Regions from separate parts of the Homo sapiens genome. Here regions 2, 3, 4 and 5 are each linked to region 1. Evidence: promoter capture Hi-C in 16 types of primary human blood cells and fetal thymus (Javierre and others, 2016). All regions are on one chromosome and are shown on one strand. Each heading gives the region's core, a stretch centred on a gene start or on the middle of the fragment in contact. The rest is flanking DNA. Distances are from core to core; before and after follow the strand shown. Region 1 holds the start of TBC1D23 (TBC1 domain family member 23). Region 2 overlaps CMSS1 (cms1 ribosomal small subunit homolog). Region 3 overlaps CMSS1 (cms1 ribosomal small subunit homolog). Region 4 overlaps CMSS1 (cms1 ribosomal small subunit homolog). Region 5 overlaps CMSS1 (cms1 ribosomal small subunit homolog).

Evidence for each region. The method cuts DNA at HindIII sites, captures the fragments that hold promoters and counts their contacts. A CHiCAGO score of 5 or more calls a contact.
Region 2: a fragment that was not itself captured here is called in contact with the fragment with the promoter of TBC1D23 in region 1 in 13 of 17 cell types (neutrophils, non-activated CD4 T cells, activated CD4 T cells and 10 more); the score reaches 9.5 in neutrophils.
Region 3: a fragment that was not itself captured here is called in contact with the fragment with the promoter of TBC1D23 in region 1 in 15 of 17 cell types (erythroblasts, megakaryocytes, endothelial precursors and 12 more); the score reaches 11.8 in erythroblasts.
Region 4: a contact is called between a fragment that was not itself captured here and the fragment with the promoter of TBC1D23 in region 1, in 1 of 17 cell types (neutrophils). The highest score is 5.5, in neutrophils.
Region 5: a contact is called between a fragment that was not itself captured here and the fragment with the promoter of TBC1D23 in region 1, in 3 of 17 cell types (megakaryocytes, erythroblasts and M1 macrophages). The highest score is 6.9, in megakaryocytes.

What each region holds. Positions count from the first base shown.
Region 1 is chr3:100,259,716-100,262,415 of GRCh38, reverse strand. It overlaps TBC1D23 (TBC1 domain family member 23), which reads right to left and starts at 1,424. Exons shown (of 19, transcript NM_001199198.3): 1 at 1,345-1,424. The coding sequence starts at 1,397. RefSeq lists enhancers at 683-1,351, 1,127-1,616, 1,352-2,020. The HindIII fragment of the contact is 5,201 bases long and covers 106-2,700 here.
Region 2 is chr3:100,076,641-100,079,340 of GRCh38, reverse strand. The region is part of intron 1 of CMSS1 (cms1 ribosomal small subunit homolog); the gene reads right to left. All of the region lies in intron 1 of FILIP1L (filamin A interacting protein 1 like), which reads left to right. Among named protein-coding and RNA genes, the nearest start is that of FILIP1L, 37 kb to the left of the region's middle. The HindIII fragment of the contact is 1,951 bases long and covers 336-2,286 here.
Region 3 is chr3:100,059,651-100,062,350 of GRCh38, reverse strand. The region is part of intron 1 of CMSS1 (cms1 ribosomal small subunit homolog); the gene reads right to left. All of the region lies in intron 1 of FILIP1L (filamin A interacting protein 1 like), which reads left to right. Among named protein-coding and RNA genes, the nearest start is that of FILIP1L, 54 kb to the left of the region's middle. The HindIII fragment of the contact is 3,666 bases long and covers 1-2,700 here.
Region 4 is chr3:100,095,648-100,098,352 of GRCh38, reverse strand. All of the region lies in intron 1 of CMSS1 (cms1 ribosomal small subunit homolog), which reads right to left. All of the region lies in intron 1 of FILIP1L (filamin A interacting protein 1 like), which reads left to right. Among named protein-coding and RNA genes, the nearest start is that of FILIP1L, 18 kb to the left of the region's middle. The HindIII fragment of the contact is 2,462 bases long and covers 101-2,562 here.
Region 5 is chr3:100,019,302-100,022,001 of GRCh38, reverse strand. All of the region lies in intron 1 of CMSS1 (cms1 ribosomal small subunit homolog), which reads right to left. All of the region lies in intron 1 of FILIP1L (filamin A interacting protein 1 like), which reads left to right. The region is part of intron 2 of LOC105374010 (a long non-coding RNA gene); the gene reads right to left. Among named protein-coding and RNA genes, the nearest start is that of MIR3921, 56 kb to the right of the region's middle. The HindIII fragment of the contact is 1,353 bases long and covers 602-1,954 here.

The DNA.
Region 1 (2,700 bases), core at 175-2,674:
ACATAATTTTAAATTACAATATGTGGCTTCTATTAGACAGCCCTGGGGCTTAAATCCTACTTATTCTTCAAAGCCTAGTTGAAACACTGCTGCTTTCATGAAGCTTTCCCCCAGTGACTCCAACTGCCCCAGCCCCCACCGCCAACCTCTCGTAACACTTTGAATCACACTCACAAAGAATAAGATTAATTTTACCTTGTTACACCTTCCCAACTCCAACATAAGCAAGTTGAAGAAAAAAAAACTATATCTAGATCACCATGAAGTTTTCCTCTGACACCTTGGAGAGCCCAGCGCTACGGTAATGTTTGATGTCTGCTAATGGAGAGCTGAATTTCTTAATTACTAATTATCTATCCCTTTCAACGATTTCCATTTTTTTCCTCTGGGATTAAAGTCGATGTCTATCAATGTCCTGTATTATTTTTAAAGTGCCCATGAGCTGTACACATACAATATAACGAACAAGCAAATCCAAAACTAATACATGTGGTCAATACACTTAGATCAACTGTAAAATTTAGACAAGCCTCTAAAGGTCCCTTTTTAAAAAATGATGTTGTACAACCTAACAGTGTATCGTGAGATCAACTATTTCAAAAGTAGAAGCCTTTCCCAAAGATTAACACTGGGTGAGCAGTTTACCAAAAAATTATTGGCGGTCTTCCCCCACAATCCCGAGTATAAATCAGGTAAGCATGCAACAGCTTGGGTGCAGTAAGAGCAAAGTCCCACACTGCATCCAAAGCTCAGAAATCGAGCTGTGAGAAATGTGGTAGTAGGGGAAAAGATGACTTGCGTGAAGGAGACGAACGATGAAAACTGTTGGAATGCAAAACGAGATAACAGCCAGAATAAAAAAAAGTATACCAACTAAGTGGGAGGGATTCTCCTCGGGTCAACCTCTGAACCCTCAGGCGAAGGTCGCAGTGGTCATTTCAAAACGTCTTTTCTTCACATTGTATTTTAGTGACTCAGATCTGCATCCAACAAACTTCCTTCTTCAGCCTACTCCAACTCCCACAGCCAGGACTCCGGCCAAACCCAGCCCTGAAGCCACCCACTCCAGCACACTTTGGAGACTGACAGACGACACAGGAGGACCGTTCTGAGGCCCAGCACCTGGATGACACCCCTCTCCTTGGGAGTCCCGCCCCAGTCCCTTGGGCAGAACCAGGCAGGCAGGGGGCACCCAGCTGGCAGAGGGGTAGGGCAGGGCACCGGACTTCGCCTAGGACCGGCCTCTCCGTTCCATGCCGACGCCAGACGGCTCCTCGGGGACCGGCAAGATGGTGAGAAGGAAGAATAAAGGGGCATTGGAAATTAGCCCCGGCTTTCACTCACCAGCCGTCGCCGCTCGACGTTGGCAGCGGCGGCACATCTTCTCCTTCCGCCATTGCTGTTGACGTCCACGTCACTTTGCCGAAAAGTGGATCCGGCGCTGAGACCAACTCCGAGACTCAATGTCGTAAAAGGTCTTCGGAAGTCCAGCACTGAGCTTCCCCAGAGGGGAAGAAAGAGGGAGGTGGCAAGGGACTGGAGGAACGCAACGTCACGGCGTCCCGAGGCCGAAAGGCAGCGTCTTGGGGGAGGAGACTTGGTGGAGGCAGCTGCCCCTCCAAAGACTACATGTCCCAAGATGCCACGGTGCCGCGGGCGGGGCGGGGCGCGGTGGACGCCGTCCCAGTTGGAGGCCTTGTGTGACAAACAGCGTGTCTTTTTAGCGTCCACTTAGCGTCTTCATTCCAGCTTGGCGTCGAAATTAACAAAGTTAGAATTTACAGTCCTAACTATTGGAGAAAGCAAGGGAAATGGGAATTGACATAGGGAAGGCGGACGTAGGAGAAGAGCCACAGTTCAGTAATTTCCTGCTGTAGCAATTTAATTTGAAGAAAGAGTGGGACGTAAGGAAAGGGGCAGACCACCCCTATTTGTGAGGCCCCGTCAAAAGTGTAAATGAAGGCCCACATACTTTTTGACTGAATATTTAAAAGTTGTAAATGAAGCTATATACTAAAGGAGATACGTTCTAGCCTCCTACCTTAAATATATCTTCCTAACAGTCTGGAAGATCAAGTCCGAATTTAGAATTCTAGGACTGGAATTCCAGGCAAGCAGAGCTGCCAAAATCCTTCTCTACGCGTTCCACTTCCCCTTTACACCGCATGGGCGGACACTTGGCCACCGCCGGGGCCTTGGGGTGAGCACACGCTCAGGAGGATGGACCTAAAGAAACGCTTTTGCAAGCCCTGAAAACAACAGTGATGAAGTAGAACTGCATGTAACAATATGGATACATCTGAAAAATACGCTGTTAAATGAGCAAAACAGATTGCAGACGGATAGGTAAAGTATGGTATCATTTATAGTTGGTGTTTAAAAGACAATATATTTAAAATAGATCCATATGAGTTTAAAATGCAGGAGAATGATATATAGAAAACTCGGAATGGCAGTTACATTCAGGGAAAGGGAGGAGTTTCCATGAATTTTTAAATATTTATTAAGGGCCCCAAGGTGGCCACATAGGTGGCCAGTGTTCTTTATAGAGTCTATACTTAGGTATCTAAAATGTTTCATAGTTTCAAAAACTATTTGTTTTAAATAGATACAAAACAGTACAGCTATCTCATTTACAACCAAAAACATGTTCACTCTCTTCCCTAAAGGGAAATAATACAGATCTGCATGGTACTGCAC
Region 2 (2,700 bases), core at 62-2,561, 180 kb after region 1:
ATCCTGTCAAGAAGTGAAGGCTATTTCCTCTACCTTGAATCTAGGCTGGCTTTTTGAATACTTCGACCAACAGAAAGCATCGATAGTAACTCTTTACCACTTTGGGGTGTAAACAAGCCTCAAAATGGCCTGGCGACTCTCACCTTTGCATTCTCGTAAGCCAGTCACCATGCTGTAAAGACTGTAAAAGACTGCTAACGCTGAGAGGACTGGGGAGAGAGGCCTGGATTATGAGGGGTCATTTTGTACATTTCAGCCTCAGCTGAATGCTATTGCAGAGGTCTTGCCCACCTCATTTGGAAAAGAGAGCCATCTAGTTGAACCTAGTCCAAGCTTGTCCAACGTGGGCCACATGTGGCCCAGGACAGCTTTGAATGTGGCCCAACACAAATTAGTGAACTTTCTTAAAATATTATGAGATTTTTTGCAATCTTTTTTTCCGTTTTTTTTGATATGGAGTCCCACTCTGTCGCTCAGGCTGGAGTGCAGTGGTGTGATCTTGGCTCACTGCAGCCTCCACCTCCCAGGTTCAAGGGATTTTCCGGCCTTAGCCTCCCGAGTAGCTTGGATTACAGGCACCCGCCATGATGCTCGGCTAATTTTTGTATTTTTAGTAGAGATGGGGTTTCGCCGTGTTGGCTAGGCTGGTCTTGAACTCCTGACTTCAAGTGATCTGCCTGCCTCGGCCTCCCAAAGTGCTGGGATTACAGGCCAGCGAGCCACCATGCCAGGCCAATTTTTTTTTTCTTTACCTCATCAGCTATCGCTAGTGTTGGTGTATTTTACGTGTGGCCCAAGACAATTCTTGCAATGTGGCCCAGGGAAGCCAAAGATTGGACACCCTTGACCTAGTCAATAAAAAATAAATTATTGCTGTTTTAAACGACTACATTTTGGAGTGGTTTGCTATGTAGCAATAGAGAATTAAGACAACCATTATGTTTTATATTACATATGTGTTATGTCATCGTTCTACATGTAAGAACTGTAACAGAAAAAAAAATTAGGCAAAGTTCTACGTTTTCTCTGGATTTATCAATTATTGGCTAAAATGCAAGGGTGCATTTCTAGAGGGTGTTTTATTTCAATAACTACTGTTACTTTCCCTCCTATATACTTCAACACTTTGAAAAGTTAATTTACTTTTCTTTAGTTGTTCTGAGGAATGGGAGCAAATATATTAGCACCAATATGATGTTTGTATACTAAAATACTGACATGAAATTTTTATCAAACCAGCATATATTATCTTTTTTTTTTTTAAAGCAAGCCCAATTCTAACTTATAAATAGGATAACTCAATATTGTTAGTACAATTAATAATGTTTTAGCTGGCTGTTAAACGACTGACATTCCATTTTAGAGTCTGAGTAAGTGAAACTGGGTGTCCTAAATTTCTATTTTAATAATTCCTTATTATTCTTATTTTTTTTGAGACAGGGTCTTATTCTGTCACCCAGGTTGGAGTGTAGTGATGCGAACACAGCTTACTATAGCCTCTACCTCCTGGGCTCAAGTGATCCTCCTGTCTCAGCCTCCCAGTAGCGGGACCACAGACATGCACAGCCATGCTTGGCTAATTTTTTTATTTCTTGTAGAGACAGGGTCTTGCCATGTTGCCCAGGCTGGTCTTGAACTACTAGGCTCAATTCATTGTCCCACCTCACTGTGATTATAGGTGTGAGCCACTGGGCAAAGCCAATTCCTTATTATTTTTACTGAATTTATCTCATTCTGTACTGTTTTACTATGTTAATTCTTGTGGGGATGAAGGCTATCTTGCAATTCCTCTACCTGGAATGTTACTCTTCTCCCCTCTCCATTTCCTTAAATCCTCCTTATCTTAAATACACACTGCCTTGCATTAACTTTTTGTGCTATAAAATCCAGCCATGGCTTAATAGCTAACCACCTTTTTTGTTTAACTACTCTTATTTTTAAACTGGTTGCTGTCCTGAAACACTCTCAGTGAAGTACAAACATACTTGCTTCTCAGATTGTAAGAGAAAGAAATGACTTTGGCTGTTGCCTGAGTCTACTTCTTAAGAACACCATGCATCACTGATTGGGAGCTCACAGGATAACGGCAGATAGAGAGTTTCTGCATGATGGTGTGTTCCCATTTGCTTGGAACCTACGAGCAACATGTGAAAGTATGCAGTTCCTAAGTTCTTTGCATGTCAAGTACAAGCTATCCAAGCATCCACTCTTCTTTCAAAGGACGCTAAATGCAAAACACAGCTGTCTGTGACCTTGGGAGACCTAACCGGAATCTGCAAACAAGCTTATGTAAGCGTACCCTGGCCAGCCTTGTTCCGAAAGCCCTCTCTAATTAAATGAGAGTTTTGATTTCTTATGTGGAACAGTAAAGGGTCTTCTGGGAAGAGACATCTCTTGCAGGAACTGTAATTTGAAAAGTAATTTTTGTCTCTATTGCATCCTTAACTACACAGGACATAATAGTGGGCAAGAAATGATAGCAGAGCTGTAAATACTGAGTAAGTCTGACTAATTCCCAGGCTGCACAAAAGATCTTATTAAACAACTTTATTAATGACCTGGAAATCTGAGAAGACGTTACATTAATAAGTTCCTCACATGGCACTAAAGGTGGAGATGGTAGAAGAAACAGAGGTGAAGTCAAACAATATTCATGGATCCCTGGAGATCAGAAAAATGAACAGTAAAGTACACAGTGAG
Region 3 (2,700 bases), core at 174-2,673, 200 kb after region 1:
TCGCGAGGTCAGGAGATCGAGACCATTCTGGCTAACACGGTGAAACCTCGTCTCCACTAAAAATACAAAAAAATAGCTGGGCGTGGTGGCGAGCGCCTGTAGTCCCAGCTACTCGGGCAGCTGAGGCAGGAGAATGGCCTGAACCCGGGAGGCGGAGCTTGCAGTGAGCCAAGATCGCGCCACTGCACTCCAGCCTGGGGGACAGAGCAACACTCCGTCTCAAAAAAAAAAAAAAAAAAAAAAAAAAAAAAAAAAAAGAAGAAGACAGGATAACCACAAGTGGATATTTCCAGATCTCTAAGTATTACTAGGGAAGTAATATAGAGTAGTAAAGGCTTTCAATTTGGGAAGATGAAAAAGTTTGTGGAGATGGGTAGTAGTCTTGGTTGCATAACAATGTGAATGTTCTTAATGCTATTAAACTGCACAGTTAGCAATAGTTAAAATGACAGATTTTGTATTATATATATTTTACCACAATAAATGAATAAATGAAAAAAGTGAAGTCTCTGGAATCAGTCTTCTTGGCTTCAAATCTTGCCTCTGATATTTCCTAGCTGTGAGTCCTTGGGTATTGCATTACCTTCTCTGTGCTTCAGTTTTCTCACCTCAGAATGGGAGGATAACGACATGCACCTCGGAGGTAGTGAGGGTTAAATGAATTAAATGAATTCATATGTGTAAAGCACTTAGCACCTAGAATGCAATAAAAGTCCAAGAAATGCTAGTGGTTGTTAATGGTGTTGTAATTATTAGTACTGCTCTTATTATGAGGTAAAGCAATTTTTTAAAAAAGTTCCATCTTCTTTCTCTTCTTCTTTTCATTCTCTGCAGGAGGTATTAATAAGAAATAAAATAGTGAAAATGTGGGTAGGAGGAGAAAGAAAGTAAAACAAGGGCCTGGGAAAATTAACACCCTGGAATAACCAAGAATTGCCTACATCAGCCAAACATTTAAGTTTTAATCTCTAAGCAAAACTGTGCAGGGTCCTCAACCACCTGTGAAGATTTTCGAATGTCATGTGCTTGGCCCCAACTTGGACTCACCCCATCTGGCTGTCCAGAGATAAGGAGCCTCTCATTACACAAACATACTCAGTGTGTACAGAGGGATCACTTGTTTTTGGTATTTTAGGTTTATTTAGAAGAAGTATAGTTTTTAAAATCTAAAAATTGTACCCTTCCTTCCTTTTAAAATTTTTTTTTTTTTTAAATTTTAACAGTGCCTTTCTGCCTTGATTAGAAGTAAAGGTCAACTTCTATGTGCACATCTATTGGCCACTTAAGAGAGAAAGCCCTGCTAATAAATCTTGGGGCAAAGGGTGTGGTTTCTTGTGTGTGGCTATTGCTATGCTGCAACTCATCACCTCGTGCGGTTAATGAGGATGTGGTTCTGCAACTTGCACTTCCATTTCAAAGCCATGCAGGCCATTGATAGATCTGTATGGCTCAAAGAGATGCCCTATTTGTTTTTTATTTTTATTTTTTCGAGACAAGATCTGGCTCTATTGCCCAGGATGGAGTGCAGTGGTGTGTGATCTTGGCTTAGTGCAACCTCCGCCTCCCACGCTCGTTATCCTCCCACCTCAGCTTCCAGAGTAGCTGGGACTACAGGCACACACCCTGTGCCTGGCTAAATCTTGTGTTTTTCTATTTTTTGTGGAGATGGGGTTTCACTATATTGCCCAGGCTGGTCTCAAATTTGTGAGCTCAAGGTATCTGTCTGCTTCAGCCTCCCAAAGTGCTGGGATTACAGGTGTGAGCCACTGCGCCGAGCCCCTATTTGTTTCTTAAGTGGTGGTTTTTACTCAGTGAGAGGTGGTAGCTAAGCATTTTTATGTATTTTTTTTTTCTTGGGTGAAGATGCTATTCTAATGTGCTCTGATTTCATTTTCTTGTTTTCGTTTAGGGCATTGGCATACTTTAAAGCTACCTTGCTAGGCCAAGGAGCTGCCTTCTCTTAGAAGGGCATCAGGAAGATGGTTTTTGGATGTGGTATAAAGGGATGGAAGAGGAGGTGGAGTGGGAAACAGTTAAAGTACTAAGGCAAGAGTCTCCTCATGGTTTCTCCTTGCATGGTACTTCACTCCTTTACCTCCCAGTAGATTTTATTTTCTAAAATAGTAGATCAAAAAAATCTTTAGGGGCTCCTCATGACATAGAAAGTAAATCTCAACCTCTTCAGTCTGGCACCGTAGCCCACCCACCATGTGACACACACCTCCAGTTTCCTCAAATCCCTTTACCATACCCGGCACAGCTGAGGGCACATGTACCTGGAGCCCATCTTCCCCCCGCCCCCATTTCCCCAACCGTCCTCCTCCAGCAGGAAAACTGCCTGTGCCACCCCTAGTCATATGGGTCACATTTTAAATTAATCATTTCATACATATGTGATTTACCTCACTAACGAGGCCAGAACTCCCCAGACTGGAGGCTCATAGGTTGAATCCAGTCCACATGCATGTTTTGTTTGGCCTACATGATGTTTTTGAAGAATATGAATTAGTTGCCAGAGTTTTTTAAAAATCAGGAGATGATACATACACACAGAAATCTGGATTTCTGATTTCTCTTGACAAACTGGAAGCTCTGACAATTCTAGGCCGGCACATATGGATGGTTCCAGTCAGCTGGAGTTGTGTAATGACTGACTTCTTCAGGCATGATGGGTCCTTTTCATTACAGTACAGTCCCAGT
Region 4 (2,705 bases), core at 82-2,581, 160 kb after region 1:
AGCAGTTTAAATGGTGGAAATGGCATTCAAATATAGGGTTTTTCACTCTAAAACACAGTGCTTGTTTCTTTACTTCTCGTTACCTCCTTCTACTGAAGCTTATCATCACCAATACAGGTACCGTGTAGTTTGTTTTTTTACCTGTCATAAAATGTGAATCTGCTAACTGGTGAGGGAATCACAGGGAGGCTTTCAGCTGGCTGTGCTGCAAGCAGTACAGACTCCAGTGGGTTGGCAATAACAAATTACAGCACAGCCAAGAGTCAAAGTAGTCCCTGACCTATGATCTTGTTGCTATTCTTGTTTTACTAGATTTTTCAAATAGCAATGTGGCACGTACCATTACTATGCCTAGCTAAACATTAAAAATCACTATTACCTTGTCAGATATGCTACCGTTGATGAAATTTTAAAAAACCAACAAAATAAATGATAAGAGTTTCTACTGAGTAAAAATATAACACAAAGCTATTCAGAAAAAGTGCAACAAAGCCATTGCAACTTAGAAGGTAGCAAGTATCCAGCTGAGTATTTTGTTGAAATGGAGGCCTAATCCTGGGCTAGGAAAAATTTAATAACCAAGTAGTCTTTGTGATATTTGCCAAATAACGAAGAATATTCAAATCCAGAACTAATTATTAGAGTCTATTAATGGTGCTGAAAATAACCTAATAGTTTAGAAAATATTCATGACGTACATGTTCACAAATACATGGCTTTAAAAACAGAGTGCAATCTCACTTTTAGATGTAAATCCAACAAAACATGTATATATATAGGCTTGTATACTGAAAACTACAAAATGCTCATGAAAGACATCAAATATCTAAAAATAGAGAGATATACTGTGTTCGTGGATTAGAATACCGGGTTGTCCCTCCATATCCACAGAAGATTGGTTCCAGGACTCCCTTCAGATACCAAAATCTGAGGATGTTCAAGTCAGTGATATAAAATAGCACAGTATTTGCATATAATCCATGCAGATCCTCCTGTAGCCTTTAAAAAATGTCTAGATTACTTACAATATCTAATACAACAGTGGTTCCCAACCTTTTAGGCACCAGGGACTGGTTTTGTGGAAGACAATTTTTCCACGGATGGGATGGTTGGTGGTTTGGGGATGAAACTGTTCATCTCAGGGCAACTGGAATTAGTCTTTCTCATAAGGAGCATGTAACCTAGATCTCTCGCATGTGCAGTTCTGTAGTTCACAATAGGGTTTGTGCTCCTATGAGAATCTAATGCTGCTGATCTCACAGGAAGTGGAGTAATGACAGTAATGCTGGCTTGCCTGCTGCTCACCTCCTGCTTTGTGGCCTGGTTCCTAACAGGCCACAGAGTGGTATGATCTGTGGCCCAGGGTGTAATGCAATATAAATGCTATGTAAATAGTTGTTATACTGTATTGGCTTTCATTTAAAATTTTTTTATTTTTAATTTTTGTGGGTACATAGTAGGTGTATATATTTATGGGGTATATGAGATATTTTGATACAGGAAAGCAATGTATAATAATCACATCATGGGAAATAAGGTATCCATTCCCTCACACATTTATCCTTTGTGTTACAAACAATCCAATTATACTCTTTCAGTTATTTTAAAATGTACAATTAAATTAATTTGACTGTAGTCACTCTGTTGTGCTATCAAATACCTGGTGTTATTCATTCTTTCTTTTTTTTTTTTGTACTCCTTAACTAACCCCATCTCCTCCCCACCCCCTACTACTCTTCCCAGACTCTGGTAACCATCCCTCTACTCTCCATCAACATGTGTTCAATTATTTTGATTTCTACATCCTACAAATAAGTCAGAACATGTGATGTTTGTCTTTTTGTGCGTGGCTTATTTCACTTAACATAATGACCTCCAGTTCCATCCATGTTGTTGTAAATGACAGGATCTCATTATCTTTTATGGCTGAATAGTATCCATTGTGTTTAAGTACCACATTTTCTTTATCCATTCATCTGTTGATGGACACTTAGGTTGCTTCCAAATCTTGGCTATTGTGAACAGTGCTGCAATGAACATGGGAGTGTAGATCTCTCTTTGCTATACTGATTTCATTTCTTTGGGGTATGTACCTAGTAGTGGGATTGCTGGATCATATGGTAGCTCTAGTTTTAGTTTTCTGAGGAACCTCCAAACTGTTGTCCACAGTGGTTGTACCAATTTTCATTCCCACCAACAGTGTATGAGAGTTCCCTTTTCTCCACATCCTTTCCAGCCTGTGTTTTGGATAAAAGTCATTTTAACTGGGGTAAGATAATATCTCATTACAGTTTTGATGTGCAGTTTTCTGATGATCAATGATTTTGAGCACCTTTTCATATGCCTGTTTGTCATCTGTATGTCTTCGTTTGAGAAATGTCTATTCAAATCTTATGCCTATTTTTTAAATTGGATTATTCATTTTTTTCTTATGTAGTTGTTTGAGCTCCTTATATACTGCAGTTATTAATCTCTTGTCAGATGGGTAGTTTGCAAATATTTTCTCCCGTTCTGTGGGTTTCTCTTCACTTTGTTGATTGTTTCCTTTGCTGGGCAGAAGCTTTTTAAGTTGATGTGATCCCATTTGTCCATTTTTGCTTTGGTTGCCTGTGCTGGTGGGGTATTGTTCAATAAATTTTTACCCAGACCAATGTCTTGAAAAGTTTCTCCAATGTTTTCCTGTTTCAGTTTCAAAGTCTGAAGTC
Region 5 (2,700 bases), core at 29-2,528, 240 kb after region 1:
CCTCATATCTCTCTCTCTCTCTCTCTCTCTCTCTCTCTCTCACACACACACACACACACACACACACACACACACACACACACACAATGGGATCTAGCATCCAAGCTATTCTAAGAACAGTTTCATAAAGTATCAGCTATTCTTCCTTTAACCAGCAAATCACTGTTCTATTGAATTATAATCTATTCTTTAATCATTTAGGGGATATCTAAAGCACCTAGAAGTTCCTAGAATGCAAGTTAAGGGTAGGCTGAGGAAGGGGAGGTTCCCTTTACAAAGCTTTCACTGGCATCTGAATTTAGATCTTTTGAGATTTTAAAAATATAAGCAACCAAGACACTTGATTTAAAATTCACTGATTTGTTCAAAGTAGTGCTCTATGGAGGGCCAGTGATCTTCTAAAATGGGGTCACAGTACAGACTTTGCTTCAAATTCAAGAGCTCACGATAGCTCCTTTCTTGACTCTGTTCTTTCTGGCACTCAGATTTTTGAAGTAAAACAAAACATTACAGGAATTTTCTCTACAAGGAGACTTCTGAAATTCCGGGAAGGGTTCCTCCTCTCCCAAAGTGTCTTGCTTAATGCTGTGCATCATAAGCTTATTTCTTGAAATAAAAATGCTGAGATGCTGAACTTGGAAGGCAGCAATAAACCAAGGGGGATAAAGTTGAGGGCACAAAAACCTGAGCCTCACTTTTTAACAACTCCAAAGAAGAATGAACTTATTATATATAAGGAGAGCTCTATAGGGTGTCACTAGAAATTCAGCTACTTCCAATGGTTTTGCTTGCATGCCTGGAAAAGCAGTGACACTGGCACAAGTGTGTTCTATGTGAGAGCAGTAAGCTGGGGAATTTTGCGTCAGGATTTGAGGTCTTAGGCAATTGACCGGCCTTGAAAAGTACAGCACACTGGCACTAAGAAAATGCAAAATTAGGCTAGGCGTGGTGGCTCACGCCTGTAATCCTAGCACTTTGCGAGGCCAAGGCGGGCAGATCACAAGGTCAAGAGATCAGGACCATCTGGCCAACATGGTGAAACCCTGTCCCTACTAAAAATACAAAAATTAGCTGGGCATGATGGCGCATGCCTGTAGTCCCAGCTACTTGGGAGACTAAGGCAGGAGAATCACTTGAACCTGGGAGGCAGAGGTTGCAGTGAGCTGAGATCGTGCCACTGTACTCCAAACCTGGCAACAGAGCAAGACTCTGTCTCAAAAAAAAAAAAAAAAAAAAAAAAAGCTAATTATTCATTACTTTCTAAAAAATAGTTCTTAGTAAGTTAATAGTAACATGTATACTCGCTTTGCAATTTTTAAATGAAATCACTAAAAATAAACACTTTTTAAGAACTTTAAGACTATTTTAAAAATGTTATCAATTATTATTCATTTTCAATCTGCTGCTATTCCTTTTAGCTTATGGCAAAAGATATAACCCAATTGCAGTCCTCAAAACAGAATGGCCAAAGCAATGCTAAGTCTCGCAAGCCCTACCTGAGGCCTTCAAAACGATTAGAGCCTAAATGAATCAATTCTGTCTAGGCTGACAGCATGTATTTTCTTTTGGAAGTTCAGTGACTACAGAGGGAATATTTTGGCTTTCTAGTGCAAACATGTACAGATTTTGAACTTGGGGAACTTGCAACTTCTGGTTGTAAAGTTGTCTTCTACTAAGAAACCATGGCACCAAGTCCTAAATGCGAGAATACAGCTTTTAGAAAATCTGCAAATGATTTATTTGCAGAATAGTGAAGTAAATTGCAAAGAATTATGTGAAACAGAAAGAGGGTGTGGGAGCAATAAAATAAATGAAGATACAAGGCTTTTAAAAGGTTACATGGGGAAATGAAGACATTAAATGCCACTTAATTTTAGAAAATAAAATTACAAGGTATATGATATGCTAGCAAAGTTCTGGATTATAGTAAGGCTTTCCAGGGAACAAGAAAGCTTGTATGGCTACTACCCAGGGTAATTACTGAATCAGTGATATTACTCAGAAAATAAAATTGCACATAATACACACAGAGCTTTTAAGCCAGTTTCCTTGTGCCACATTCCCCCCTGCCCTCAATCTCATTCTAGCCACTTCCTTTAAGTGAAAAAAAGAGTCACTGTAGCTTTCTGGAATTCTCTTCCATACATGCCAAGTACATTAAAAAAATGAAAATAAGTCATGAAGTTGGATGACAATATGATGAAAAATTATCTTACTCCTTAATTTTGCTGTAATAGTTTGAAAGATGATAGTTCTGTAGAATGTGAATCGCAGTCTTACACAAACATACATCAGCATACATTCATACTGTTTAAAAAGAGAAGAGTTTTACATAGAAAAGGAATGGAAAGACAGTCAACAGCAATAGTCAAGATATCTAGAAATAATTTTAGAGGAAAAAAGTATCTACTACTGTCTTTAAATACATTAAAATAGAACAATTTTACGTATTTACTTTTCTCTTTTAAAAAATTACTTTAAAAATCTTTTTAGAAATTAAATCACTAAAAATAAATTTTTAAAGAACTTTAAGATTATTTTTTAAATGTCATCACTTATTATTAATTTTCAATCACCTGCTATTCCTTTCGGTAAGGGTAAGGTTTGAGAGGTTACTCTCCTGTCAATTCATATTTTTATGTCTTTTACCCCTTGGCTGTTTCACCCAGGCTGGAGTGCAGTGGCATGATCATAGCTTAC